6 separate regions of the Homo sapiens genome follow, and all the other regions are linked to region 1. The links are contacts of gene promoters, found by promoter capture Hi-C in blood cells and fetal thymus (Javierre and others, 2016). All regions are on one chromosome and are shown on one strand. The core of a region is centred on a gene start or on the middle of the fragment in contact, and the rest is flanking DNA. Distances in the headings are between cores, read along the strand shown. Region 1 holds the start of FAT4 (FAT atypical cadherin 4). Region 2 has its middle 140 kb from the start of INTU. Region 3 overlaps LOC102724210 (a long non-coding RNA gene). Region 4 holds the start of SLC25A31 (solute carrier family 25 member 31). Region 5 overlaps LOC102724210 (a long non-coding RNA gene). Region 6 overlaps LOC102724210 (a long non-coding RNA gene).

Evidence for each region. Contacts are between HindIII fragments. The CHiCAGO score rates a contact against its expected background, and 5 or more counts as called.
Region 2: a fragment that was not itself captured here is called in contact with the fragment with the promoter of FAT4 in region 1 in 4 of 17 cell types (M1 macrophages, M0 macrophages, M2 macrophages and 1 more); the score reaches 9.2 in M1 macrophages.
Region 3: a fragment that was not itself captured here is called in contact with the fragment with the promoter of FAT4 in region 1 in 5 of 17 cell types (M2 macrophages, M0 macrophages, M1 macrophages and 2 more); the score reaches 17.3 in M2 macrophages.
Region 4: a fragment that was not itself captured here is called in contact with the fragment with the promoter of FAT4 in region 1 in 1 of 17 cell types (M2 macrophages); the score reaches 8.8 in M2 macrophages.
Region 5: a fragment that was not itself captured here is called in contact with the fragment with the promoter of FAT4 in region 1 in 3 of 17 cell types (M0 macrophages, M2 macrophages and M1 macrophages); the score reaches 13.6 in M0 macrophages.
Region 6: a fragment that was not itself captured here is called in contact with the fragment with the promoter of FAT4 in region 1 in 2 of 17 cell types (M2 macrophages and M0 macrophages); the score reaches 10.8 in M2 macrophages.

The regions. Positions count from the first base shown.
Region 1 is chr4:125,312,136-125,316,455 of GRCh38, forward strand. It overlaps FAT4 (FAT atypical cadherin 4), which reads left to right and starts at 2,820. Exons shown (of 18, transcript NM_001291303.3): 1 at 2,820-3,842; 2 at 4,265-4,320. The coding sequence starts at 4,277. The HindIII fragment of the contact is 5,556 bases long and covers 1,777-4,320 here.
Region 2 is chr4:127,494,873-127,499,738 of GRCh38, forward strand. No RefSeq gene overlaps it. Among named protein-coding and RNA genes, the nearest start is that of INTU, 140 kb to the right of the region's middle. The HindIII fragment of the contact is 2,494 bases long and covers 2,325-4,818 here.
Region 3 is chr4:127,394,077-127,398,670 of GRCh38, forward strand. All of the region lies in intron 4 of LOC102724210 (a long non-coding RNA gene), which reads right to left. Among named protein-coding and RNA genes, the nearest start is that of INTU, 240 kb to the right of the region's middle. The HindIII fragment of the contact is 1,145 bases long and covers 1,526-2,670 here.
Region 4 is chr4:127,726,023-127,730,503 of GRCh38, forward strand. INTU (inturned planar cell polarity protein) reads left to right here. Exons shown (of 16, transcript NM_015693.4): 16 at 1-715. SLC25A31 (solute carrier family 25 member 31) reads left to right here and starts at 4,378. Exons shown (of 6, transcript NM_031291.4): 1 at 4,378-4,481. RefSeq lists a silencer at 4,098-4,255. The HindIII fragment of the contact is 1,274 bases long and covers 1,946-3,219 here.
Region 5 is chr4:127,463,980-127,468,385 of GRCh38, forward strand. All of the region lies in intron 1 of LOC102724210 (a long non-coding RNA gene), which reads right to left. Among named protein-coding and RNA genes, the nearest start is that of INTU, 170 kb to the right of the region's middle. The HindIII fragment of the contact is 6,029 bases long and covers 30-4,406 here.
Region 6 is chr4:127,414,168-127,418,720 of GRCh38, forward strand. It overlaps LOC102724210 (a long non-coding RNA gene), which reads right to left. Exons shown (of 11, transcript XR_001741824.3): 2 at 909-995. Among named protein-coding and RNA genes, the nearest start is that of INTU, 220 kb to the right of the region's middle. The HindIII fragment of the contact is 1,270 bases long and covers 736-2,005 here.

The sequences.
Region 1 (4,320 bases), core at 1,570-4,069:
CAACACTTCTCACACAAGCCTTTGGTAGAAAAGCACAGATAAACTTAACTTTTTTTTTTTGAAAGGCAATTAATTAAAGAAAATGTACAATGAGAAATGATTCTTACACTAACTGTTTATTAATGTGTTCCATTATAATATCTACCTAGTAATGTATTCCATGGCTTTTTTGCATATTTCATGCATACAATGATCTCTATATGTCTTTACTTTCTTTCATTTACTTTTGGAGAGGGATCCATATTATTTATCATGCATGATTTACTTTTTGGGAGGGCATCCATTTTTTAACATGCATGATATTACAGGTTGAAATGCAAAAGAGAAAAGTAACAACAAAATACCTTTGTCTTTTATTAAAACCATGCTCTATATCTTACCTTAAATTGTGTACCTATCTATACATAGATTGTAAATTCATGTATAGGTTTTATCTATAAATGAATATGTTACTTTAAAGTAGTCATCATGCGAAAAGTTTCTACTTGTTAAAATAACCACACTATTGGCTAAATAATTTTCGATAATCCTCTTTTGAAATTGTCCAAAAAATTTTTATGTACTCTATCTCTCTATATATTTTCTGTATTAGTTTATTTTGCCATATCTTGTTTTGTAAAACTAAAATGTATACATATTGCACTGATTGAATACTTTCCATTTCACAGAATGAATGATCTTCACCTGTTTCCCAAATTAAATTCACTCATATATAATGCAAATGTAATACTATTGACACTAAATCTGAAGATTATCCCACAGGCAAAAAAAAACAAGCAAACCAACAAAAGTCCATGATCTCCTACAACAAGTATCTGAATGATTTCTTTCTGTTTATTTCTCTATAAATACTTGAATAATAGTGCATTAGGAAACAAAATAAAACAAAACAGTAATATTCTCTTAAAATCACACAGACATGATTTGTAAAAATTTGTAAAAATTTGTTTGCCACTTTAGTTAATCTACAAATATTTTTTGGCTAAATTATACCAAAAATAATGGTGTTAGGATTGTAACTTAAGAAAAATACGATTTTTGAAAAACAGGCTTAAATGTCTCTAAAAAGTCTAGAGTCTAATGTTTTCAAGTTTTAAAATACATAAATGGTTAAATTTAACTTTTTTGTCTGTTTCCAGTTAACTCATTACATTACAGTAGAGGAATATGTAGAAGTTAGCTTTTTAACCTAAACAGAGGAATTGGTGATAGCTTTAGAAATCATGTTTCCATAAATCAGTTTTGAGTTACAGGCTGCCTGCATCATCAAGACTTGAATTTGCTGTCTGTCCTACTATTCTTGATTTTTTTTTTTTTACTCTAAATAAGAAAGGCACTAGGAAAGTCTTAGAGATCGTTTTCTTTGCTGCTATCCCTAGGCAAGAAGCAGGAATTAGCCTTGTAATCCGATCCTTTTAGTCTCTGCATTTAATTTTAAGCAAGAAACCAGGAGACTAAAGATGTAAGACTGACGTAGAACAGCAGAGGGCAGTATTTACTCATGACTGAACCCTCTCTGGGCGCAGAAAGTTTTACGTTTGTGAGGGATCCTTGTGGCAGAAATGTATGACATATGCCCTGTATTTGCATTGTTTGGCTTGAATTCTTATTTTCTAGGTTGGTTCCCTTAAAGGGGAAAAATATCGATCTGATTCCTAGTAACGTTTTTCTTCTTTTAAAGAAACGATGCATGCCACCACAAAAATTAACTGCAGTGAATAGTGGGTGAGTTGATCTGAGTGCATTAAGTGGCATGTGGGTATTTTTAAAAACTTAAGCTTAAATATTATTTTATTTATTTCTACTTTCTCGTATCTATTTCTCCCAGACTGAAAAGCAAAATAAAACTTTATTAGGTTTCCTTTGACTAAAAAATGTGGAGGTGGAAATACTCCATCAGGGATCAAAATTCCAAACTAACTTTGCAACAGGAAAAGATCTCCCTCTTTTCAAAGGGCTGCCATTATTATTGTTGTTGAAACCCTAAGGTTTGGGCTACTGGCACCTGGAATCCAGTTGGGAAAGAAAACAAAACAAACACTGAGTTCCCCTGGCCTTTCCTATAGTAGGAAGTCCAAAGTGCCCTTGCTACGGAGGCCTCCTGCCCCCTAGTCACCTGGAAGGTGGGGGAGAGGGGCAAGTGAGTGAAGATTTAGAGTTTAGCTCGCCCTAGACAGCAGGGAGCCCACTGTGTAGAAAGAGGAGCAAAGGGGAGGATTTGATTTGGATTCTGTGGGATCACACTGTATGGCAGCTCTATCCCTTGCATAAAGAGAGAAGGGGCAGGAAATGGTTAAAGCAAATCTGCACTGTGCATTCCCAGACAGGCTTTGCTTAATCCTTCCTCCCCGCTTTAACAGACCCTCACCCCCCGCCTTTCTTTTATTTCTCTCGACCCCCTTACCCCTGAGTTATTACTAGCATAACAACCTAACGGTCTTCCCCCAGACCCTGCCACTAAAGTTATTTATCTGCAAACCTGACCCCACCCCCATCTATTCTGCGGCAGCCTTTTGCTGTTATTGCTCTGACGCCGGCCAAGATTTGGCCGAAAAGGAAAAAAAAAAAAAAAAAAGAAAAGAAAAAAAATCACCCCCCTTTTTAGCGCCTCCGCCTCGCTGTGCTCCCACACCAGACCGCCTACAGCCCTCCGGGAGGCTGAAGTGATTAGCATCCCGAGAAGCCAGTCGGAGGCCGGGCAAGGCGGAGGGCGCTCGCGGTAGGAGTGCCGGTCGGGGCTGCTTCAGCTCCGGCCCAATGGGGCTGGGGCGAGGGAGGGGCAGAAGGTGACAGGACTGGGAGCTAGGGGGAGTCCAGGCGAACTAAAGTGCGGGGATCAATGAGTGTCGAGCAAAGTTTCTGAGTGCTGCTCCAGCTCGCGGTCTTCCCTCCCCCTCTGTTTGTGTTTCGGCGACGCGCTGTGTGTGTGTGTGTGCGTGTGTATGTGTGTGTGTGTGCATGCCTGTGCGGCGGGGAAGGGGCGGGGAGAGTGTGAGGGACCAGGCGGGAGGTGGAGAAGGGCTCGCGGAGCCCTAGCTCCACCGCAGTCCAACCTTCGGCCCCGGCCGGCGAGAGGGAGAGCGCTGACAGGCGCCGTCCGGAGCTGCGGAGGGCGTCACTACAGCCCAGCGCCGACTTCGCCGCCTCCGCTGCCAACTGTGAAGGAGAGAGAGGCATCAACCACCCCCCGCCCCAAACAAAAAGCCTTGTGGATTACAAAGTGAAACTGACACGGGACAATAAAAGCAGAGATAGCGAGGGCAGGGGCGAGGCGCGCTAGAGTGGGCTTCTGACTGGGGCCGCCGGAGAACGACCCCCCCTGGCATGGTGAGGGGAGGGCGACTCGGGGACCGCACGCTGTTTCTGCCCGACCCCTGCGAGGCCGAGAAGAAAGGGGAAACTGCGTTCGATTTGGATGTACAAATAATGGGTCGGCAGGCGCCCCGGCAGAGGTGAAAAATGCCGAGGAGCCCTGGCTGTTGTTTGTGCCGGACCACGGGCTTGAAGCCGCAACAGGGGCGGCGGCGGCGGCGGCTGCAGGAGGGGAAGGGGCAGAGTTGAGCGCTCCCGGGTACGGGAGCCAGAGCGCGAACGCTAGCGCTTGGAACGCAGTTCCCGAACTGCCTGCGCGCAGACGCCGCCGCCTGGGCCTCAGCGGCCACTGCCGGCGCCCTGTTGGAGGGGCGTTGCAGCCTGGTTTTTGAGGAGTGGGGACTCCAGGAATTCCATCGCCTCCAGCTTTTGGGAAAGAAATTCGATTCTCCCGGTTCCCCACCACCCCTTCCCCGGTGCGCAGTTGTGCTTGGACGTTTGTTCCTCCCTCTTCACGTTCTTCGCTGCGGGTAAGTTCTAAAGTTTCTGAAGACCGTTCTTTGCAATGATTCCTCATATACCTTAGATACAGGCAACTTCTCCCAACTCTCATCCACCCGGGTGAAAACGCTCAGACTATCTGGATTCAAAAACAAAGTAAAAGGGGGCATATATAAGAGGCTTGAGAAACTTTTCTGGGAACTCAGCTCACAGGAGTGTCCCGCGGAATGCCCTGCCGCTTTTCGCCACAGCATCTCTCTTGCACTCCGCGTTCAACTGGCTACCTAGAGTCTTTTGCTGATGCTACTTGCTTTTGCCGGACTGGAGGTTCTTTGAAATAGCAGAGGTCTCAGACCAAGCCGTCAGCTGAATCTTTGCTGGCGCTCCTTAATCCCTGTAAATATCATTGCGTTTGCTTCACCCCTTCCTTCTCTTTATCACATCGTTTTAGGGAGCCAGGACCATGGACTTAGCACCAGACAGGGCTACTGGCCGCCCGTGGCTCCC
Region 2 (4,866 bases), core at 2,322-4,821, 2.2 Mb after region 1:
TTCTGAAGTTAAGAGAATGAAGACAAGCCACAAACAGGGCTAAAATATTTCTAAATCATAGATCTGATAAATGACTTGTTTCAGAATATATCAAGAACTTAAATCTCAACCGTAAGGAAATTTTTAATATCCAATTTTTTAAATGAGCAATTTCAACATACACTTTACTAAAAAAGATACATAGATGGCAAATAACATGAAAAGATGTTATCATTAGTCATTAGGGCAATACAAATTATGTAATATATTATATATTACAAATATATAATTATTTATAAACAATATATTTGGAAATATGTATTTGTAAATATATAGTAATATATATTTGCAAATATTTGTAATACATAAGATAATATATATTGCAAATTATATATTGTATTATATCATTACTCATTAGAGCAACACAAATTTAAATTGCAATGAGATGCAAATACACACTGATTAGAATGTCTAAAATTAAAAAGACAGAAGACTGCCAATATGAAGTGTTGGTGAGGATGTGGAAGAATCGGAGCTCTCCTACACTGCTGATAAGAATACAAAATAATACAACCACTTTGGAAAACAGTTTGGTAGTTTCTTAAAAAGTTAAACATCTACCTACCATATGATACAACCATTTCACCCCTAGGTACTTACCCAAGAGAAATGAAAACATACGCCCATACAAAGATGTGTGCATGGATGTTCATAACAGTTTTATTTGTAATGGCCAAAAACAGGAAACAACCCAAATGTCCAATAGGTGAATGAAGGGATAAACAAATTGTAGTACATCCATACAATGTAATACAATTCAGCAATTAAAAAAATAAAATTACTGTGAAGTGCAGCAACATGGGGACTACATACTCTGTGATTTCATTATGCAAAATTCTTGAAAATGCAAACTAATCTATACAACAAAAAGCATATCAGTGGTTTCCTAAAGGGTGATAGGCAGTAAAGAGGGATTAGAAAAGGAAACAAGGAAACGTTGAGGGATTAGTATATTCAATGTCTTCATTCTGATAATAGTTTCATGGGCGTAAACATATATCAAATTTTATCAAGTTTTCCACTTTAAGTTTGCAAAGTATTGTGTTATATATTATATCTCAATAAAGCGGTTTTTGAAAGCTATGAATCAAATAAAAATAATCATAGATTTGAATAATATTTATATAGTCATAATAATATAACCACTGGCTATTAGTTTAATGAAAATTGTGACATATTTTTGGTGGGGAGACCAGAGGCTGGGTTGTTTCATTTGCATTTTTCTGATTTCTAGTAAGGTTTTGCATCTCTTCATATATTCATTGGTCATTTGGATATTTTTTCCCTTCTGCGAATTGTTTGTTCATGCACTTTGCCTGTGTTATCCCTGCTGATTGGCAGGAGTTCCTTGTATATTCTAGATATTAATCCCTTTTTAATTATATATGCTGCCCTATCTTCGCTCAGGCTATCCCTGACAGTTAACATTTTCTAACTCCTTGCCTTTCTTTGAAGGCCACCTAACCTTCCCTGTCCAAAACACTAGGCAGGTCATAGTGTCAATTGTCTTTATCCCTCAGTACTGTCTTTAAATATAATATCCTGAATAAACTAAAAAATATCCTCAAAGGTCATATGAGTCTATAAGATAGATGTCTCATTAAAGAGTTTTCCTGAAGAATAACTGCCCCAGCCAGAGAAATTTATACCTGGCTTTAGAAAACTGCAAGCTATGTCAAATTGGAGATAAAGAAAATAATGTGTTGTTAAACTTGGTCCACCCTCCCAAATTTCCCCACATCCACTTATTTGCTTATGAGGCAGTAAAGTACAGTGGTAAACCTTTGGAGTCTGATAGACATTATTTCAAATCCCAGAGTCTTCATTTTCTAGGTAAAAATGAGGTTGGTAAATACCTACCTCACAAGACTGTTTCCATGCTTAAGTATGATAGTGTGTCTGGAATTTATTCCTTCCAGTGGGTTCTTGGTCTCACTGACATCAAGAATGAAGCCACGGACCTTCGCGGTGAGTGTTACAGCTCTTAAAAATGGTGTGTCTGGAGTTTGTTCCTTCATATGTTCAGATGTGTCTAGAGTTTCTTCCTTCTGGTGGGTTCACGGTCTTGCTGACTTCAGGAGTGAAGCCACAGACCTTTGCAATGCGTGTTACAGCTCTTAAAGGTGGCATGTCTGGAGTTGTTTGTTCCTCCCAGTGGGTTCGTGGTTTCACTGACCTCAGTAGTGAAGCCGCAGACTCTCGCGTTGAGTGTTACAGCTTATAAAGGTAGTGTTGTCTCACAGAGTGAGCAGCAGCAAGATTTATTGTGAAGAGTGAAAGAACAAAGCTTCCACATCACCAAAAGGCACCTGAGCAGGTTACCGTGCTGGCTTGGGTGGTCACTTTTATTCCCTTATTTGGCCCCACCCATGTCCTGCTGATTGGTCCATTTTACAGAGTGCTGATTTGTCCATTTTACAGAGTGCTGATTGGTGGATATACACTTTAGCTAGACACAGAGTGCTGATTGGTGCATTTTTACAGAGTGCTGATTGCTGCATTTACAATCCTTTAGCTAGACACAGAGTGCTGATTGGTGCACTTACAATCCTTTAGCTAGACAGAAAAGTTCTCCAAGTCCCCACTGGACCCAGGAAGTCCAGCTGGCTTCACCTCTCAATAGTGCATGGAAGTGCTTCCTTAGCACAGTATCTAAAGCACAGTAGGCACCCAGTAAATGATACCGTTATTATTACCTAGACTGCCTGTATTAGTTTGTTCTTGCAGTGCTATAAAGGAATACCTGAGGCTGGGTAATTTATAAAGAAAGGAGGCTTAATTGGCTCATAGTTCTGCAGGCTGTACAGGAAGCATGGAGCATGCATCTGCTAGGTTTCTAGTGAGGCCTCAGGAAGTTTTCAATCATGGCAGAAGGCAAAGGGGGAGCAGGCACGTCACATGGCGAGAGTGGGAGCAAGCAAGAATGCAAGGGTGGGGGGGTCCTAGACTCTTAAACAACCAAACCATTCATGTGGGATCAATCCCCATGATCCAGTCGCCTCCCACCAGGTTCCTTGGGAATCACATTTCTACATGAGATTTGGAAGGAACAACTGTCCAAACAATATCACCACCTTTCCCCGGTCCACTCTCCCTTTCATCCTGGCAAAAACCCTTCTATTATTTTGTTGCAAGAGTAATTGCAGTTTTTGCCCTTTTTTTAATTTTTAATTTTTTAAAAAAGTAATGGCAAAAAACACAATTACTTTTGCACCAATCTACTTATCCTGTAAAGCTGAGTTCAAAAGCCGTCTCTTCCATGATAAAGGGCACTCGGGCACAGCTCTCGGCACAGCTCCACTGAAGCACGTCTATCACTCACTGAGGCTCATTGGGTCATGAATGAGGAACCACCTCCTCCTGCCATTCAAGCATAGGGGCCTATTACATAAAGGGAAGAAAAATAAAAGAAGAAAATGGCTACATTTGTGATCCATCCTGCCATCACTGCTGACTCCAGTGGTATCTGTGGCTGATCAGGGAACTGGCTAAATATGAATATGTGGGAGACCAAGTAATATTAACTGAAAAAGATCTGCTAGAGAGTGGTTTCAGAGAGCATCCCTTCCACCACTGTGTGGTTGCAGAGATGCCCAAGAAACACTGGACTCTGGAAAGAAAGAATTACTGTTGGTTTCACCATGTACTGTTGTACCTATGACCCTTGAATTGGCAAGCTATTGTACTTCTTTGGATGAGTAATGAAAAAGGCTTTGGCATAAATCAGAAATTCTGAAGAATTTAAGCCAGGTCACAATGAAGTATCACTGTAGCACCATGCACTTCTTAGTAGCAGAATGAAATGAACCATCTGTTAACCTCTACAAAAGAAGAGGTGCCCAGGGAAGACAGCTGGAGACCCTTCAAAACCGACAAGGAGTACTTGCTAAAAATGGCAGCAAAGGACTGAAGCGGGGTGTAGATGATGACAACATCCATTCTACTTTAGAACAAATTCCCAACTTATCTTGCTTTCTCTCCTGTTTATAGTCAAATAATAGAATGAACACTCATTTCAAAATTTCATTACCAGTGGCACTGTTGCATGTTTGGAATGTCGTCTCTTTAAAATGACAAAACTGTATGCAATTTGGAGTAGATTTCTCCTTGAACAACTTTTGATAAACTAGGTAGTATGGTCTTAACATATATGAAAAAGTCATTCTTTTTTCTTTTTTTTTTTTTTGAGAAAAAGTCATTCTTGTAAATCATTTAAATGGGTACGATGTACACACTGGTATTTAGAGTTTCTGTTTTAATTCTTTTTAAATAAACTATCATTTAATCTTAAAAAAACGATATGCAAATCCAGCTCTCACAAACAAGTACAAGCCAGCTTCAGCACACCACTGTTTAAACTCTATCATCACCCCCAAAATTTTAATCACTCCCTTTTCTGTGGTCTCAAGCACATTATTCGTTTGACTTCTGTGTATGGGAGAATACTATGATGAGCTCAATACATGACTATTTCCCACAGTAAAATGTGAACTCCCTAAAGTCAGGAATAATTACCCATGTCACCCATTTTTAACACAATAGTTTTCTTCTGAATATAGCTAGCAACTAGAGTAAGCACTATATATAAATACAAATGATAAAGAGATAAGCCAAAGAAAAGGGAAATAATATTGACCAACCGTAAAGAAAACGATCTTTTAAAATCACAAATGAAGAACGGAGGAGGAGGAGAAAGATGAAGAAAAGGAAAACAGGAAGAGGAGAAAAAAGAAGTGAAGGAGAAAGAGAGGAAAAGATGGTAGAGAAAAAGCCCATAGAAGCTTCTGAATATAACAGTGTCCTACAATATGATCCCTTTTCAAAGTA
Region 3 (4,594 bases), core at 848-3,347, 2.1 Mb after region 1:
CCAACAAATCAGCAGATTAGGCCCAAATTACCTAACTCTAAATTCTACCATTTTTTTAAAGCATAATACTCTGAGACTTGATATGTCAGTGCTAGAGGAACTGTATGCTGTACTCATAGGTCAGATATTTGTTCTTATCCATTCTTATTAAAAGAATGACCACATACAATCTAACCTCTCCACCAGAAGTAAACAAATATTTTTTTCTTTTAGGAAAAAAAAGCAACAGGATTAGTTTAAACCTACTGCATAGCAAATACCATCTCAAACAAAATTGACAGGAACATGTTAAAGTAGAAAAATAAATTCTTTACTTGAAATCAGATCTAAGTAGACTTGTTTCCTTTCATACTGAGAAAGTTGCTATACTTGAGTTCATTGATACTCATAAGTAGGGCTGTCTGGTCCTCTCAGTTTGATATACAGCTAGCTTGATAGCTGCCTTGACATAAAGCTAAACGATTTAATTTTAAATTGCTATCAATAAAACTTGGAGCAAGGTATTAGACATGAAATTTCACTCATTACATATAATTTTCTCCAAAATAATAACTTGTAGCATGAATTATATTTCCTCTTTGAAAACGCAAAGTTGTCACTAATCCAGATGGGTAACTCTTCCAGATTTTAGATTGCAGTTTTTAAAACTTATTTTCTAACAGAGTAATATAGAGCCAGCTGGTTCCAAAGAGCTGGATCATCTGGTAAAACATGTATTTAAAAGAATAGATTGCAACTCTGAACATCTTGGACAAAAAATAAAATGAAAAACTATTCTGTCCATCCCTGGGATTTGAGCTTTCAAATCAACCTATCCAAAAGGAATTCAGTACATGTATCAATCAAAATGTCAAGACAAAATTATAACAAAAGGCAAGACAACCCTAGAATAAGATGAATGCTCACAATTTCTAAGCCCTGCAATTTCTTGAATTCACCAACAGTTTCACACTCAGTCAACAACCTATATCAATCAATTTTTTAAAAATAGAGAGCAGGCCGGGCGCCGTGGCTCACGCCTGTAATCCCAGCACTTTGGGAGGCTGAGGTGGGCAGATCACGAGGTCAGGAAATCGAGACCATCCTGGCTAACATGGTGAAACCCCATCTCTACTAAAAATACAAAAAATTAGCTGGGCGTGGTGGCATGCACCTGTAATCCCAGCTACTCGGGAGGCTGAGGCAGGAGAATGGCATGAACCCAGGAGGCAGAGCTTGCAGTGAGCCGAGATCATGCCACTACACTCTAGCCTGGGTGACAGAGCAAGACTCCGTCTCAACAAAAAAAAAAAAAAAAAATAGAGAGCAGACCAGGTGCAGTGGCTCACATCTGTAATCCCAGCACTTTGGAAGGCCGAGACGGGTGGATCATCTAAGGTCAGGAGTTCAAGACCAGCCTGGCCAACATGGCGAAACCCCATCTCTACTAAAAATACAAAAAATAAGTTGGGCGTGGTGGCCGGTGCCTGTAATCCCAGCAACTTGGGAGGCTGAGGCAGGAGAATCACTTGAACCTGGGAGGCGAAGCTTGCAGTGAGCCGAGATCGCACCATTGCATTCCAGCCTGGGCAACAGGAGGAAAACTTTGTCTCAAAAAAAAAAAAAAAAAGAGAGAGAGAGCATATATTCAAATATAAATGGATTTTTGTCGTCCAGATATTCTTCAATAGACAGAACGAAGATGTGTTCTATACATGCATCTGTGATATAATTCTTATTGACAGTAAATACAGCAAAGTCTTTCTCAGATAGTTTTGAGAATTTGCTGCCAGTTCCAATGGGAATGTAAAAAAATGTGTTACCGCTAATGTTACTTACATCTATGATGTGTCACATTAAATTCGCAATAGCTAATGCGTTTGGTTCCCAAATGTTCACATAAAAAGTAATGGTTTAAAAACATATAAGCAAAATTGAAATGAAAAGCCTAATAATTTAAAAAGTGATGGTATCTTGACAGATTATTGCAACCAGATCTTACAAAGTTTATGGAGGCACCCAGGAATTCAAGAGAAAAGTATAGTTTTCAACTAAAATGACTCAAGTCATTGAATCTTTACAGACCAGGCTACCCATGCTACACTGACTTCATGAAACTAAAACCAACTTTTCCGCTGAAGTACCTTTTCAATAATAGAAATAAAAGCACTTAAAACAGAAATTTGGTGAGACAGTGTTTTTCATCCAAAACAAATGTTCCAGTTTTATATTTGTTTCAATTAGCTTTTACTTGTATACCAAATAGTCCCAAAACTTAATGACTTAAAATAACAATCATGTTTATCTCCTATAAGTCTGTGAATTGACTGAGCAGATCTTCTGGTCCTCACCAACTTGGCTGGGACTGAATAATCTAGTATGGTCCCACTCACATGTCTGAGGGTTGGCAGGCATGTTGGTTTAGAGAGACCTGAGCGAGGACAGGTCATATGTGTTCCATGTGTTCTCTCATCCTCTAGTACAGCAGTGTCCAATCTTTGGGCTTCCCAGAGCCACACTGGAAGAAGAATTGTATTGGGCCACACACATAAAATACACTAACGATAGCTGGTGAGTTTTTTAAAACCGCAAAAGAATCTCATAATGTATTCAGAAAGTTTACAAATTTGTGTTGGGCTGCATTCAAAGCTGTCCTGGGCTGCATGTGGCCTACAGGCCGTGGGTTGGACAAGCTTGCTCTAGTGGGACTTTCAGAGTTTCTTTACACAGAAGTCTCAGGGTTCCAAAGAATAGCAAGATAGGGTAAGCTCCGACATGTAAGTGTTCATCACACTAGCATCTGCCAGTGTCCAATTAACCAAAGTAAGTCACATTGTCAAATTCAGTTGCAAGGGTAAAGAAAATTGACTCTGTCATTGGGGGATGGTTAACGGGCACAAAAAAAATAGTTAGAATAAGACCTACTATTTGATAGTACAACAGGGTGACTATAGTCAATAATAACTTAATTGTATATTTTAAAATAACTTAAAGAGTGCAATTGGATTGTCTGTAAGACAAATGATAAATTCTTGAGGCAATGAATATCCCATTCTCCATGATGTGATTATTTCACATTGCATGCCCATATCAAAACATCTAATGTACCTCATAAATATATATACCTACTATGTACCCCAAAAATTGGAAATAAAATAATGTTTAAGAAATAGAATCCATCATTGATATTTTTTCCAACTAACCATACTATCATCAACTTTCAGTTAAAGATCGATAGCCTTGTTTAGGGTTTGAGATATAGGGAAATTTTCTTATGCCAGTGATAATGTTGCTTCTCTACTTCTGAACTGATGCTATAAGCTCTCTTCCTGTTTTATAGTCTTTGTTTATTTTCTTTCTTTTCCAGCCTTTCCTAGAAGGTGGCCAAGTAAAGAAAGCAGTTAATCAGGTAACAGAAAATATCAAGATTAATGTGAGAGAAGAGAGGACTATTACGTATTCCTTAATATCTCAAGCCAAGAAAAAATATCCAGAAATTTTTAATTTGCTTTATGTCCCATGGATGTGACTTAAGCATAGCTCTAGACTTCAGGAAAAAAAAATGATAGTGGTAGTTAAAATTAATAAGACAGAGGCAATTTGAGATCTAGAATGGGTGATTTATTTTTATCTCAAGTAATGGAAAAATGAGGTTTTTCTCAATATTGCAAAAAAAAAGGTAAGTTATCCTTAGTACGGAAAACTAAGGTAGTTTAATTTTTATAATACTATTTAGAGGCAATAATTCAAGAACTAATGCCAAACATAATTCAGCTTGCTTTGCTAACATTATTAAAGCAATGAAAATCTAGTTTTTAGAAAGAGCAATAATATAATGGCAGTCATTTTTTCACACAATCTGATCAAGAACACTTCATCAGGTGTAAGTGACAAGAAAGAGTTTCATTACCATCTTAATGGCAATTAAATAACCACTGACATCATTGGTAGGAAATGTCTTTCATCACCATTTCAGATTTCTTGAAATAGCAGGAAACGTGATTTTGTTATTGTAGTGTTATGCAGTTAGGGGGTATAATGGTCCCACAAAAGTAAAAACAGAGCATGAGCTTTAATGACAATCACCATCACTTTCTTGTTTAAGACAAAGTGAACTCTACGCATTTGATCAAAACCCCAACTAGACTTATAAGGCATCTTTTTCTTGTCAGTGAAATCATTTTTACTCCATTATAGAATTGGTTATTCCAACCTAATAATATAGGCAGTGAGCTGTGGGATTTAAAGTAGAGCTATGCATGTGGAAGTCAGAATAATCCAAACATTTTTCCACTGGTATCTTAAGATATCACATTTCTTACTTTTGCCTTTAAACCCACTCCTAACCATTTTTCTTTTATTTGGTCAATACATAATAGAAACTTCGTGAAATGTTTTTACCTTAAAAACTCAAAATGCAAAATAACATATAATTTTGTGATATTTCATTCAACTCAATAATCGTTTCCATATTTTTTGGCTCTCTCTGGCCAGTGTCAAACTGTTTTGATTATTAGTTGATGAAAATGAGAATTTTTCCCCCTGTACACTGCTATTCAGCTTTCATTTAATAGCAGTTATTTCCTCTGATATCACAGCTTGCAAGCACTGCTTA
Region 4 (4,481 bases), core at 1,333-3,832, 2.4 Mb after region 1:
TGTTCCCTTCCACCAACAACTATTAATGTGAAAAACTATATATAGCTAGCATTTTTTAAAATATCAAATACTGTCTCATTATCATATGTTTAGCCCCCCCAAAATTACATTTTAGACTCTTACTTTCTCTCCCTCTCCCCTTTCTTTAGCTCTTGTTTGTGTCTTGCCAAAGAAGTGTACCTAGTAAGGGAATGTTTCTTATTTGTGCCAAGGGACTATTGATGATGCTGTATAATGGCAAGATAGCATTTTGTAATACCTGCTTTTTTATATTTCTAATACAAATGGGCAAAGCTGTGAAACCAATTTACTAGGTTTTTCTGCTTTGGACATAATTGTATGTGTTAATTCTCTCTAAACAGTGCCTGGCACATATTACATGCTATAAAAGTGTTAGCTACTACTGCTACCATTTATTATTATCATTATTAAATATCCATTGGTTGAAAAACCAAGTAGTCAGCTAAATCATACCTGCTACTGTACAAAATGTAGGGGAAAAGCTGAGAAAAATCATTTATCAATAAACAGTTTTCAGAACAAGAATTTATACTTTGGATATTTTTAAATTGTTAAATGTTATTGAAACTTTATGCACCAAAACTGTATGAAATAATTTAATTTTGCAGTTGTGTTTCTATATTCTATGTAATTAAAGCTACTTTTATACTATATTGATAGTTTTAAATAAAACTGGTTTGGAGGTTTGTTTGCAGTTGTATTGCCTTTTTCATGCATTCATCCAACATGTATTTATTGCATTTCTACCCTGTGCCAAGCGCTGATGTGGAGGCAGAGGCTATAGCAATGAATAAAACAGCTAAAAATTCCTGCCCTCATGGAGTTTATGTTCCAATGGGAGAGGCATACCACAGACAAGATAAATAAGTAAAATATGTAAATGCTGAGAGAAAAAATCGTAAAGCAAGAGAAGGGGATGTAAGATGTGGCAGACAGGGTGACCAAGGAAAGGGATGCTGAGCTGACTGCAGACCTGAAGTGAGGAAACTAATCATGCTGATTTCTCCGGAGAGCAAAGTGAACAGAACAAAGATCCAGAAACTCTACTTTTAATGTTAACATAAATCACTAGAATTTTTTTCCTTCCCTAATCAGTAAGTAAAATCAATGCAGTAAATTACTCAGTTTCAGCTCCGACCTATTGAAGAGTTGATTTAGTGCTTTTAATAAGGTTAAAAAGCTACTGGGCGCGGTGACTCACTACTGTAATCCCAGCACTTTGAAAGGCTGAGGCGGAAGAACTGCTTGAGTCCATGAGTTCAAGACAAGCTTGGGCTTGTCTTGATATGGAGACCCCATCTCCACAAAAAATTTTTAAAATTAGCTGGATATGGTGGTCTTTGCCTGTAGTCCTAGCTACTTGGGAGGCTGAGGTGGGAGAATTACATGAGCCCAGGAGTTCAAGGCTTCAGTGTGCCATGATCTTGCCACTGCATTCCAGTCTGGGTGCAGAGTGAGACCCTGTCTCAACAAAAAGTTTTTTAAAAGGTTAACAAAGCTACATTTTTAAGTTGACACTTTCACTTTTGTCTGTCTTCTATCAATGAATACATGTCAGAAATAAGCTTGATATCATAAAGGAATATGATGTAAACATTGTCAGCTATCAAATCAAATGTTAGAGGAGGGTAGAAAGAGAAAGTTGCCCTGGGGAGCAGCAGAACACTTCCTTTCTGTCCTCAGAGATGGTTCCCTTACCTTTCTTGGATCTTAAAAAGACACTCTTACCTGTAGTGATTCAAGTAATTTCCCCCTTAAATTTCTCCGTATGTGCCTGCTAATGCTTCAAATTCCCTTGAAGGAGAACGAAACCTTTCATTTTTCAGATGTTTGCTAATAAAAAGCCAATTGTTTATTGAATTTACAATGAATTTGACAAAGGATTTTGAAGTCAATGCAATGGAAAGACTTTCAATTTTGTTTAAGCTTAAGAATTAATTAATTAATGCTTTAGACACATTAATCTGGCTGCTGCATGTGAAAGAGAGAAACAGAGATTCGAGTTGGAAAACCCAGTTAAGAGTTGAATAAGCCGGTCGGGCGTGGTGGCTCATGCCTGTAATCCCAGCACTTTGGGAGGCCAAGGCGGGTGGATCACTTGAGGTCAGGAGTTTGAGACCAGCCTGGCCAACATGGTGAAACCCTGTCTCCACTAAAAATACAAAACTTAGCTGGGTGTTGTGGTGGATGCCTGTAATCCCAGCCATTTGGGAGGCGGAGGCAGGAGAATTGCTTGAAACCCGGGTTTCAGTGAGCCAATATTGCACCACTGCATTCCAGCCTGGGCAACAGAGCGAGACTCTGTCTCAAAAAAAAAGGTTGAATAAGCCACCATGGAAAGGAAGTAGCACCAAACATATGATATCAGTAGGACTTGCCAACTGATTTTATGTGAGGTAATCAAAATATTGACAACATTCCTGGTCTGGAATCCTTCTGACCTAAATGGTTTTTTACTAGTGACAAGTACTAGTAGAAGGGTTATAACACATAAGACAAAGGAAAAATTAGAACCTAACATTCAAAAAAAGCTAAAAACTCATTTCACATTTTATAGATGTGTTGTAAGGCTCTGCAGGTCCTACAGAGTAAGAGGTGATAAGATGGGATCTCCATTTATTTCAAAACACCAAACGAGCTGTAAAAAGGGATATATTAAATGCTACTATAGAAGGATCTCCACGATATATTAAGTGAAAAAAGTGAGGTGAAAGAAAAAGACAAATGTTATGTACAGGCTAGACGTACCTCTACTGAGTATTTTTGCCGAAAGAAGTCAAACCTGAATCTGCCAACCTCCTCTAAATGAGTTCTCAAAGTGCAGTTTAGAAAACCCCTCTGTGTCACGGAGACAGGAACACCATGAAGTCAAAGGTATTTTCTTAAATGATACTATTATTTGCCTTTTTCACTTTCATTCTGTCCTGAATAAACAGTGGAGTTTTCCAGTGGCTACATGTATGATATCACAACAGACTGAATGCAAAAGCAGTAATGTGAATCTAGCTGTCTTTTATTAAATCAGACATTAGAGATTCAAAAATATAAAACAATACTATTTTTCTACTACATTTTTTATTTAAAAGTCGTACTTATGCTATCCTGTAATGGATTATTTTTATTTTAAATGAATTAAATATTTTTAAATCGTGTTTTAATTTCTGAGTGGTAAATGCCAATATACATAATAAAAACGGAAGCTTCATTGTGTCTTCAATAATTTTTTTTAAGAGACAGGGTCCTGCTCTGTTGCCCAGGCTGGAGCACAGTGGTGAGATAATAACTCACTGCAGCCTACAACTCCAGGGCTCAAGCATTTCTCCTGTCTTAGCCTCCTAAGTAGCTATACTTAGGACTACAGGCTTGTGCAGCCACGCCCAGCTATTTTTTTTTTTGTAAAGGAGGGGTCTCACTATGTTGCCCAGGCTGGACTTGGCCCAAAGTTTTGGGATTACTGGTACCTGGCCTTCAATAATTTTTCAGAGTGAAAAAGAGGGGTCCTGCAATCGAAAAGTTTGTGAACTACTCTTCTAGATAGGTCATTGGCCCTCAACCCTAGAATTAGAATTACTTCAAACACTAGAATTACCTGGAGAATTTAAATACTGATGCCAGGCCTCACTTCTAGACGTTCTGATTTAATGTGCAGGGCCTAATCCCAAGCATCAATTTGAAAAACAAAACAAAACACCCCTCATCCCCTTGAATGTGCAGTCTGGATTGAGAACCACTGCTCTGGATATTATCAATTTAAATACAATATGAAAAAGAGGAACATGTATTATGCTATGGGGGCACAATCATCAAAACGACACAGAAAGTGACTAGACAAAGGATCCCTGCTTAATTAAAGGAACAGATTAAAGCAATTTCCAAGGGAATTTGAAGCATTAACAGGCACATAGGGTGAAATTTAAGGGGAACATCACTTGAATCACACAACAGGTAAGACTGTCTTTTTTAAGATGCCAAGAAAGGTCAAAGGAACCATCTCTGGTCAAAAAAAACGTAACGGATTAAAGCGATTAAGAAAGTGAAGGGGGTAACACTAGGAACTAAAACTAAATTCTGTTAATCTCACACCGCTGGTTTACTGCTCTGGCCTAGTCTCAGCTACTAAATTTCTTCACACAGAACTGGCTCTCCTCGGCCCCTCCCCTCGCCTTTCCTGCTCAATGCTCACCGCCTCCGGACCCCTCCCTCATCAGAAAGCCCAGGCTCCGCTCGTAGAAGTGCGCAGGCGTCACCGCGCATCCAGGAGCCACGTGTCAGGAGTCACGTGTCAGGTGTCACGTGTCAGGCGTCACGTGGCTGGAGGCCGTTGGAGCGCCTGCGCAGCTTTTCCGCACGCGCCTCGCCGGCGCGCGGCTCTCTCAGCGTCCCAAGAGCCACTTTCTCGCCAGTACGATGCTGCAGCGGTTTTCCGGTTTTCCGCTTCCCTTCATCGTAGCTCCCGTACT
Region 5 (4,406 bases), core at 1,794-4,293, 2.2 Mb after region 1:
AGCAATGGCAGACGCCCCTCCCCCAACCAAGCTTGAGTGTCCGAGGTCGACCTCAGACTGCTGTGCTAACAGCAAGAATTTCAAGCCAGTGGATCTTAGCTTGCTGGGCTCCATGGGGGGTGGGACCCGCTGAGCCAGACCACTTGACTCCCTGGCTTCAGCCCCCTTTCCACAGGAGTGAATGGTTCTGTCTCTCTGGCGTTCCAGGTGTCACTGGGGTATGAAAAAAAAAAAATCCTGCTGCTAGCTCCGTGTCTGCCCAAACAGCTACCCAGTTTTGTGCTTGAAATCCAGGGCCCTGGTGGCATAGGCACCAGAGGGAATCTCCTGGTCTGCCAGTTGCGAAGACCATGGGAAAAGTGCAGTATCTGAGCCGGAGTGCACCATTCCTCCCAGTACAGTCTCTCATGGCTTCCCTTGGCTGGGGAAGGGAAATCCCCTGACCCCTTGCACTTCCCGGGTAAAACGACACCCTACCCTGCTTTGGCTAGCCCTCCAGGGGCTGCACTCACTGTCCAACCAGTCCCAGTGAGATGAACCAGGTACCTCAGTTGGAAATGCAGAAATCACCTGCCTTCTGCATCGATCTCGCTGGGAGCTGCAGATTGGAGCTGTTCCTATTCAGCCATCTTGCCAGCAAAAAAAAAAAAAAAAAAAAAAAAAAAAGGACGTTAAGTCCTAAATGGAAAATAGGTGTTCAACATATGCACCAAGGGAAAATGACATTCCAAGCAAAGAAACTGAATAAAAGCAAAGAGGTACGACATAACATGCTACTTTCAAGATCCTCAAGTAGTTCCGTGTGACTACACCATAGAATACAAAGAAGGTAAAGCATGAGATGATATGAGAGAGGGAAGATGCAGCTCATGGAGGACCACAATGATAAGTGTTTACCATATCACATAATTAGAAGCCATTGAAAGGCGACAATAAACATGATCACATCTTAGAAAGATTTATCTGGTAGTGGTACTGAGGAGTCACTGAAGCAATACAATATAAGATAAAATGGTTAAAAGAGTCCAGGCCAAGTGTTGATGGGCTGAACTATACACCCAGCGTAGAGGGGATGGAGAAGAGGGGGACTTATCAGTGATCTTCACAAAGGAGGATCACTTGGTCCTGTTACTATGTATGACCTTGGTTCAGACATGGCTTTCCCACCTACCAACTGCATGACCTTAAATAATATACATAACTCTCAACTGGAAAGTTTCCCTGACTGTAAAATAAAAATAGTAATAGTTTCTAATTCATAGAGTTGTTATAAGGATTTGATATTACAGACTCTAAAGCAACTCCATCTTAGATGTTAATCTGTCATATTGACTTCTGATTAACCCCAGTATGGTGATTGCTTCTAAGGTTTCTACTTTCATGTATTTACCATAAATTTTGCCCTTAGTTCAAAACAATCATATTATTGTTGTTAAAAGAAAAACTTTAGACTAATTAAACTTAACAGTTTAATTAAGCAAAGCACGATTTGCAAATCAGGCACCTCCTGAACTAGAATAGTTTCAGAGAAGCTCTGGTGTAGCTGCCTGGTCAAAGATATATGGACAGAAAATGGAAAGTGACATACAGAAAACAGAAGTGAAGTACAGAAACAGCCAGATTGGTTACAGTTCAGCATTTGCCTTATTTGAACAGCTGGTCGCCTTTGATGGACCAAAACTCAGTGATTGGCACAGGAATAGGTTATAGCCTGTTAACACATCCAGTTAGGCTACAGTTCACCGTGTAGGAAGAGAACTTGAGGTTCAACTTAATATACATAAGAAGACTGTTTTACGTTAAACTTAATTTAGCATTATAAATCACATACTTGCCATAAAGCCTGCACTTAGGCAAATTCCCTATGCTATATAAGCCCTGGGTTTGGGAAATAAATGGGGAAGGGATCCACCATCTCCTCTCCCAACTGCCCAAGACACAGCTTCTGTTTGTAAGTCCCTATTAATTATTTCTTTCTGAGAACCTGGATTTGTCAGTCTCTTTCTTTGGCTTAGCTTCTTTGGCCTTTTGCTGGTAGGTTTGCATAGAACAGATCTGTTCACCATGGAACAGATGAGTTAATGCAATATACTAATATGTTAAATGCCTATCACAGTGTCAGACCAATATTTTTATCATCATTAACATCAAGGAAATGAGGAGAAAACTGGTCCCGGGTTTCTGTTTTTGTTATCTGGAGATAAGTGTTTATGGAGATAAAATAGAAATTGAGTAGAATGGCAAGTTCTGGACATGTTAAGTACCTGGTACATATTAGGTCCTCAATAAAAATCCATTGAGTGAATGAATAAATTAATGCATGCCATGTCTACGGGACAACTGAAAGAAGATCTCTGCTCACATGTATCAGAAATTCAGGAGGTGGCCCTGGACTACAACTGTAAATCTTGGAGTCACTAGTGTTCAGATATTCTTTGAAACTATATGACTGACTTCAATCAAGTAAAGCATGAGGACAGATGAAGAACAAGGGAAGAAAAAGAAAGCAACATTTTTAAGACAAGACAGAGGGGAGTCAAAAAAGCATTCTGATAGTTATTTACCATTTGCCATATTTATCGTTTAGCAAAGGAAACTTATTTGTAACTTGTGATATTTATATCAAATAGCACAAGACTTTTTTGAACATTGTCATAACCTTCATGTAATAGTATGTGCCAAGATTATAAAGGGGAAAAAAGACAATAAAACCTGTAAGACAAAAGGAAGCCTCCCTTTTCCCTTCCCTTTACTGGAATTTTTATGAAAACACTTCTTTTTTAAGTTCTGAGAGTATATATCCCAGATACTTGGTTAAATATAACAGACACATATGATAGATAAGGGGGAAAGGAGGGTAGTATTTCTCCTATTAAAAATTGGAAAGGGAGATACTGGCTAATGCAAATGCTGAATACCAAATATGTTTCAAGGGCTTCAGGACATTTCCTATTTTCATGGCTAATTTATTAATCTCTAATAGCCATATGCTCTTCAAACACAATATTCCATAAATATGACTCCTTTCAAACGTGATTTTTTCAGTCATACCAATGAATAATAAAAGAGAAATGGCTGTATATTGAGTACCCCTTGGTCTGTAAAACAAAGACTTTCAGTCCACACACGGGGTAAATGTCCACCACAGAGAGAGAGAAAGGGAGAAAACGAGACTCAAAATAATTTAATAATAATAATAATAATAATTTGCATTATCTTTCCTCTGGCAAAATTTATACAATACTTAATAAGCCTCATTATTATTTCCTTTTCTTCTCAATTTGCATTAAACTTGCAAGGATAATGTGGAAAAATTATACTAGTTAAAGCCTAGCTCCAGGCCACAAGGTTTTTTTTGTTTTTTTTTTTGAAACGGAGTTTCACTCTTGCTGCCCAGGCTGCAGTGCAATGGCGCAATCTCGACTCACCACAACCTCTGCCTCCCAGGTTCAAGCGATTCTCCTCCCTCCACCTCCCGGGTAGCTGGGATTACAGGCATGCACCACTCCACACCCAGCAAATTTTGTATTTTTAATAGAGACGGAGTTTCTCCGTGTTGGTCAGGCTGGTCTCAAACTCCCGACTTCAGGTGATCCGCCAGCCTCAGCCTCCCAAAATGATGGGATTACAGGCATAAGCCACCGCACTCACAGGCCACAAAGTTTTTAAGAACAATTCTCTTCACTTAGGAGCTGACAGGAAATCTCCAAAGATGCTGTACACTGTTCTGGAGGAAAAACAGTGGATTGTGTAACCTAGATCCAAATACCTCTTCTTTTGTTTTTTTTTTTTGGAGATGGAGTCTCGCTCTGTCACCCAGGCTGGAGTACAGTGGCGAGGTCTTGGCTCGCTGCAACCTCTGCCTCTGAGTTCAAGTGATCCTCCTGTCTCAGCCTCCTGAGTAGCTGGGATTACAGGCACACACCACCATGGTGGGCTAATTTTTGTATTTTAGTAGATATGGGGTTTCACCAAGTTACCCAGGCTGGTCTCGAACTCCTGAGCTCAGGCAATCCGCCCACCTCAGCCTCCCAAAGTGCTAGGATTACAGGTGTGACCCACAGCACCTGGCCTCCAAACACCTCTTTTTAAATGCATGTACAGATATCAAATGATATAGAAGAAAAATGTGTTTTTCTAAAGATGAAAGTTACCATTAATCTTAACTTTCCTTCTCACATTATTATAATTCTTAGGGTTTTTTTTTTTTAACACATGGTTCTTTACATTTACAATATATTGCATAATTATTTTTTCCACTTCAACCTGTGATATTATATACATATAAAGCAGCCTCTCCTTTTTTTCCAATTTCTTCTCATAACCTAGCTACCATTATAAAGGTCCTATCTTTGCATGGGAGAGCCCACAGACCAAGCTGACTTCTATTTCATTTCATAGATATG
Region 6 (4,553 bases), core at 121-2,620, 2.1 Mb after region 1:
ATGTGAAGTTTCTTTGAAACCTCTTCCAAATGCTATTTTTCACCTGGAAAATGAGGATAATAACAATACTTTCCTCATAGGGCTGCTGCATTAGTTTTACATACTGTAAAAATCTTTCCAAAATGTCACTTGTGTTCATATAATATTCAACTGCTTATTGGATCTCATCAGACTTCTTAGCTGGTCATGCAAGTCCTCTTTTTTATCTTATTGCTTTACCATGTCACCCTCCACCCCAATTGGGCCCACGGCCACACCTAAGTCATTCCCAGCTCCCTATCTTAACTCACTTTCTCCCTCCAATCTCCTTGCAAATGTCCTCATCACTCCTCTCTGCTAATCATGTCTTCCCCATCCTTCATCATCTCATTCACATTTTCCTCCCTCTTTTTATGTCTTCCCCATACTACATTGCATTAACTGACATGCACTGAGTGCCTATGATGCACTTGGCACATTTTGGGTGTTATTTAATCCTTTCAGCAATCCTAGAGACAGTTAATAGTATCCCTATTAGACACATGAGGATTAGAGAGACTATGATTTATGCAGGGTGGCAGAGCCAGGGTTCACTCTCAGTTATCCTAATCTATCCTGCACTTAAGAGCTTGCTCCACATAAATGAACTCTTAAATTTATATTTTCTGGTAATGTTCTCTAATTGTTTAAGATGTATGAAGTCTATGTGATCTCCTATGTTCTTTGAGGTCCAAATCTCATGCAGGGCACACCATAAGCTTAGTTAATACTGATAACTTGAATTGGAAAAACTGATGTGAAGTTCCAACAAAAAGTTACTCTTTAAATATTAAATCATCCCCAAAATTTTAAAAGAACTGTGAACTACCAGATGTCTCAGACAGCCTGGTAGAGGCATCAGGAAAGCAACATCATAGAGAAACACTCACTGGATGTTTGAAGATGATGAAAAAAACTCTTTCGGGAATTGGATCTTTGACAGAATGAAGTAGAACTATCAGAGGAAGATCCAAGCCCTGCAAAACATAATGCACACAGACATTTAACTTCCAAATAGTTTACGTCTTAGGAAGGAGTGGGAAAGATAAATAAGGTGTTTCCTTCTATCACTTTCATGTTCTAAACCATTTCCTTTTTTTTTTTTTTTTACCCTAGAGGTCCATGTCAGCTGAAACAAAGTTTTAGAAGACAACTAAATTGGGCTGTTTCACTACCACTAAGTAAATTCTGACATAATTCTTTGTCCTCTGTCCAGAGGCCATGGTTCAAATACAAGGAGATGGAACAATGCCTGGACATATCTCAGCAATTATTCACCCAACTCTACTCTGGAACCACAGAGGAATATCTAGTCAGGTACCCTAGACTGTCATCTCTGTCCCCACACACCAGGCACTGCAACTGTACTACAGAACTTTCAGCTTTATTGGTACCCAAGGGATGGAGCTATAGTCCAAGAAGCCCATAGCCACAGAGCTATCAGGAGAAAGCAAATCCTTGATATCCATGAGTTTTAATACTAGCCTGTCACTGACTATACAGATGGGCCCCAACTTACAATGTTTCTACTTTACTATGGAGTAAAAGCCATATGCCTTCAGTAGAAAGTGGTGCCATACTCTCTCGCACTGCTGGGCAGTGGCAGCAAGTCACAGCTCCCAGTCAGCCATGCCATCACAAGGGTAAACAACCTCTATGGGGTTCTGTGCTGCCAGATGACTTTGCCCAACTGTAGGCTTAGTGTTCTGAGCACATTTAAGGTAGGCTAGGCCAAGTTATGAAGTTCACTGGGTTAGGTATATTAAATGAATTTTTGTCTTGCTATATTTTCAACCTAGGAAGGGTGTATTCAGACATAACCCCATTATAAGTGGAGGAGCATCTTCACCTCCAAAAGAAAATTCCTACCAACACCTTTTCAAGCAGTCTCATTGGCAACCTTTACATAGTAATATTTTCCATCACCATGGCCCTTGCTGCTTCTTAACAGCTAGTCCTTTGGAAACAGAACAAATTAGCAGCTAAAAGCTTCTAGCCCCTCAGCGCAGTCTTGCATATGCTGCATCTGAGTTTCTTTGTGACTTTTATTCAGAGCATGAGGTAGCTGGAGCGCAGCCGAACTCATCCTTCAACAGCCTTGCTCATCTGGTTTCAGGGGCCAGAGACAACACCCCAGCTGCCAGTTCCATGCCCAGTGACAGGGTGAATGATCTTTTCCACAGAAAGGCAAGGTTAATAAACAGTCTGGATCACAGACTTCTTATTCTCTCTTCTCTCCTCCCCTCTGCAGTGCCAAGGGACTTCCCTCCGTTTTTTAATGCCTTCTGTCATCAAACAATTAAGCCCATTGCCAGGCACCCACCCCTAGTGCCCTGTTTGTAGAAAATACGTATGTAACTAGACTGGGCCCAGCAGAGCAAGGGGGCATGATCTCTTACTGAGATGAAATTTGTTCACTAGCACACTCACATTCTCAAAAATTGGTTTAAATACTTCTAAAAAAATTAATAAAGCATTATTACCTACTCAAGTTTCCAGGCACATTTACACAAAACACCCTATCAGCCAAGAATGTATTTGCTTTGGGTTTTTCTTTTAAAGAAATTGCTAGGCTATCATATAAAAGCCTCCAAAATATAAGTGTATATAACATACACATATAAAATATTTCTATATTATATATTTATATATTGTTATATATTATATATTGTTATATATAAATATATAACCTCAAATATTTTTAAATGTATATTTATGTATATAGCTACATATTATTTATATTTTGAATTTTATATATTATTTATATTTATAAATTTATGTATAAGTATAAAAAATTATATAATATATACATGTTTTGGGAAAGTAGATATTTTATATAAAATATATTAACATAAATATATGTAACACAAATACTTCAAATAACATATTTATATAAAATGTATTTTATATATAAATATGAATGTTTCCTAAAATACTAATTAAAATACAAATACAAATACAAATATGTGTGTGTGTGTATATATATATATACACATATATATGTACATATATATGTATATATATACGTATATATATATACATATATATATACGTATATATATATACATATATATACGTATATATATATACATATATATATACGTATATATATATACATATATATACGTATATATATATGCTCTTACCCCAAAAAAGACCTGTGAGAGTCTCTCAAGTCCTATACTGAAATTTCTTCCACTCCTTATTTTCTTTTTTTGTTTGTTTATGTTATGAACAGGGAATGTCATGACAATTACAGAATCACATCTAATGAAGTCTGGCTCTGCTATTGGTTCAAATGAAAACTTCAACAGTTCCACAACCTTGAGGTGTCCTCACAGTTTACAAACAACTCTCTCATTTTCAAGAGGAAGATAAGGGGATTATAAGTAAAAGTTTCATTCCAAAATATTGACTAAAATGCCAACCTATTATTATGGATTTCACGGGTCAGTATAACTAATCTGAACTAACTAGAGACTAAACCTGAAGAGACAAAGTGTTTCAATGGAGGTAAAACAATGACAGCATTTATTCCCAAATACAGAAATAATTATCATGGCATAATGTAGTCTCAAGGCTTGGAAAACAGGAGCTCATCAGTTGCAAAACGTACCTAACTCACAAGGAATGTATGAGTATGAGAAAGCTCTCAATGCACAGTTCCTCTTGGTTTATCTTGTATTAATTTACTTCCCAGTCAACTAATTTCATGAAAGCATTTGAGGCAGAATTCCTTTCTAAACTATAAAGGACTGCTAGTGAGAGGTGGTGAAACAGGATTAATTGGGCTGCTGCTTTTCCTGCCTTCCCCAGACCAGGCTCCTACACGACCTGGGCAGGGCTGTCCTCCCACATTCCCCAGATTCAGAAAAATAAATAAACAAACATTTCACTATCTGGCACTATGTCTGACTTTTAAAGACATTCCATCAAACATTAACGATAAATAATTGTATGGTTTATGTAGACAACTTGCATTGTTTATAGCAATTATGAAGGAAGAAAGGCAGAGCAAGAGGAAATATTTTCTTCTGGCATTTCAAAGCAGATTCTGACATAACAAGTTATTGCATTTTAAGAATATAAACTGCCTCAGTAAATTCTATTCCCCTCAGAAACTGCCAAAATTGCATTCTGCAAACACTAAAAAAGAAGAACAATGACACTGCTGCCAAATACAAAGATATCTATCAGCCAAAGAGTTAAGAGAATGATAGAGCGCTATAATAAATTTCCTTTTCATTCCAAGTACATTGTAAATGACCTTAGCAGCTCAGATAGATGAATTTAGCATCTTATACCTAAAAAACAATTTATGAATTTACTAAAAATGTTTACTATCAATGCTACAGCACTTTTCTCAAACATTTTGTACCATGGAATTTTTGTTTCATCACATACCTACTGAAATTTTGTCAAATACTAATATTCCCAGAGCATTGTTTGGGAATCACTTAGACAGCATTTAATAATGTATTATCCGACAATATAGATAATAGAAATATACATACATGCTAACTTTAGAGAGGATA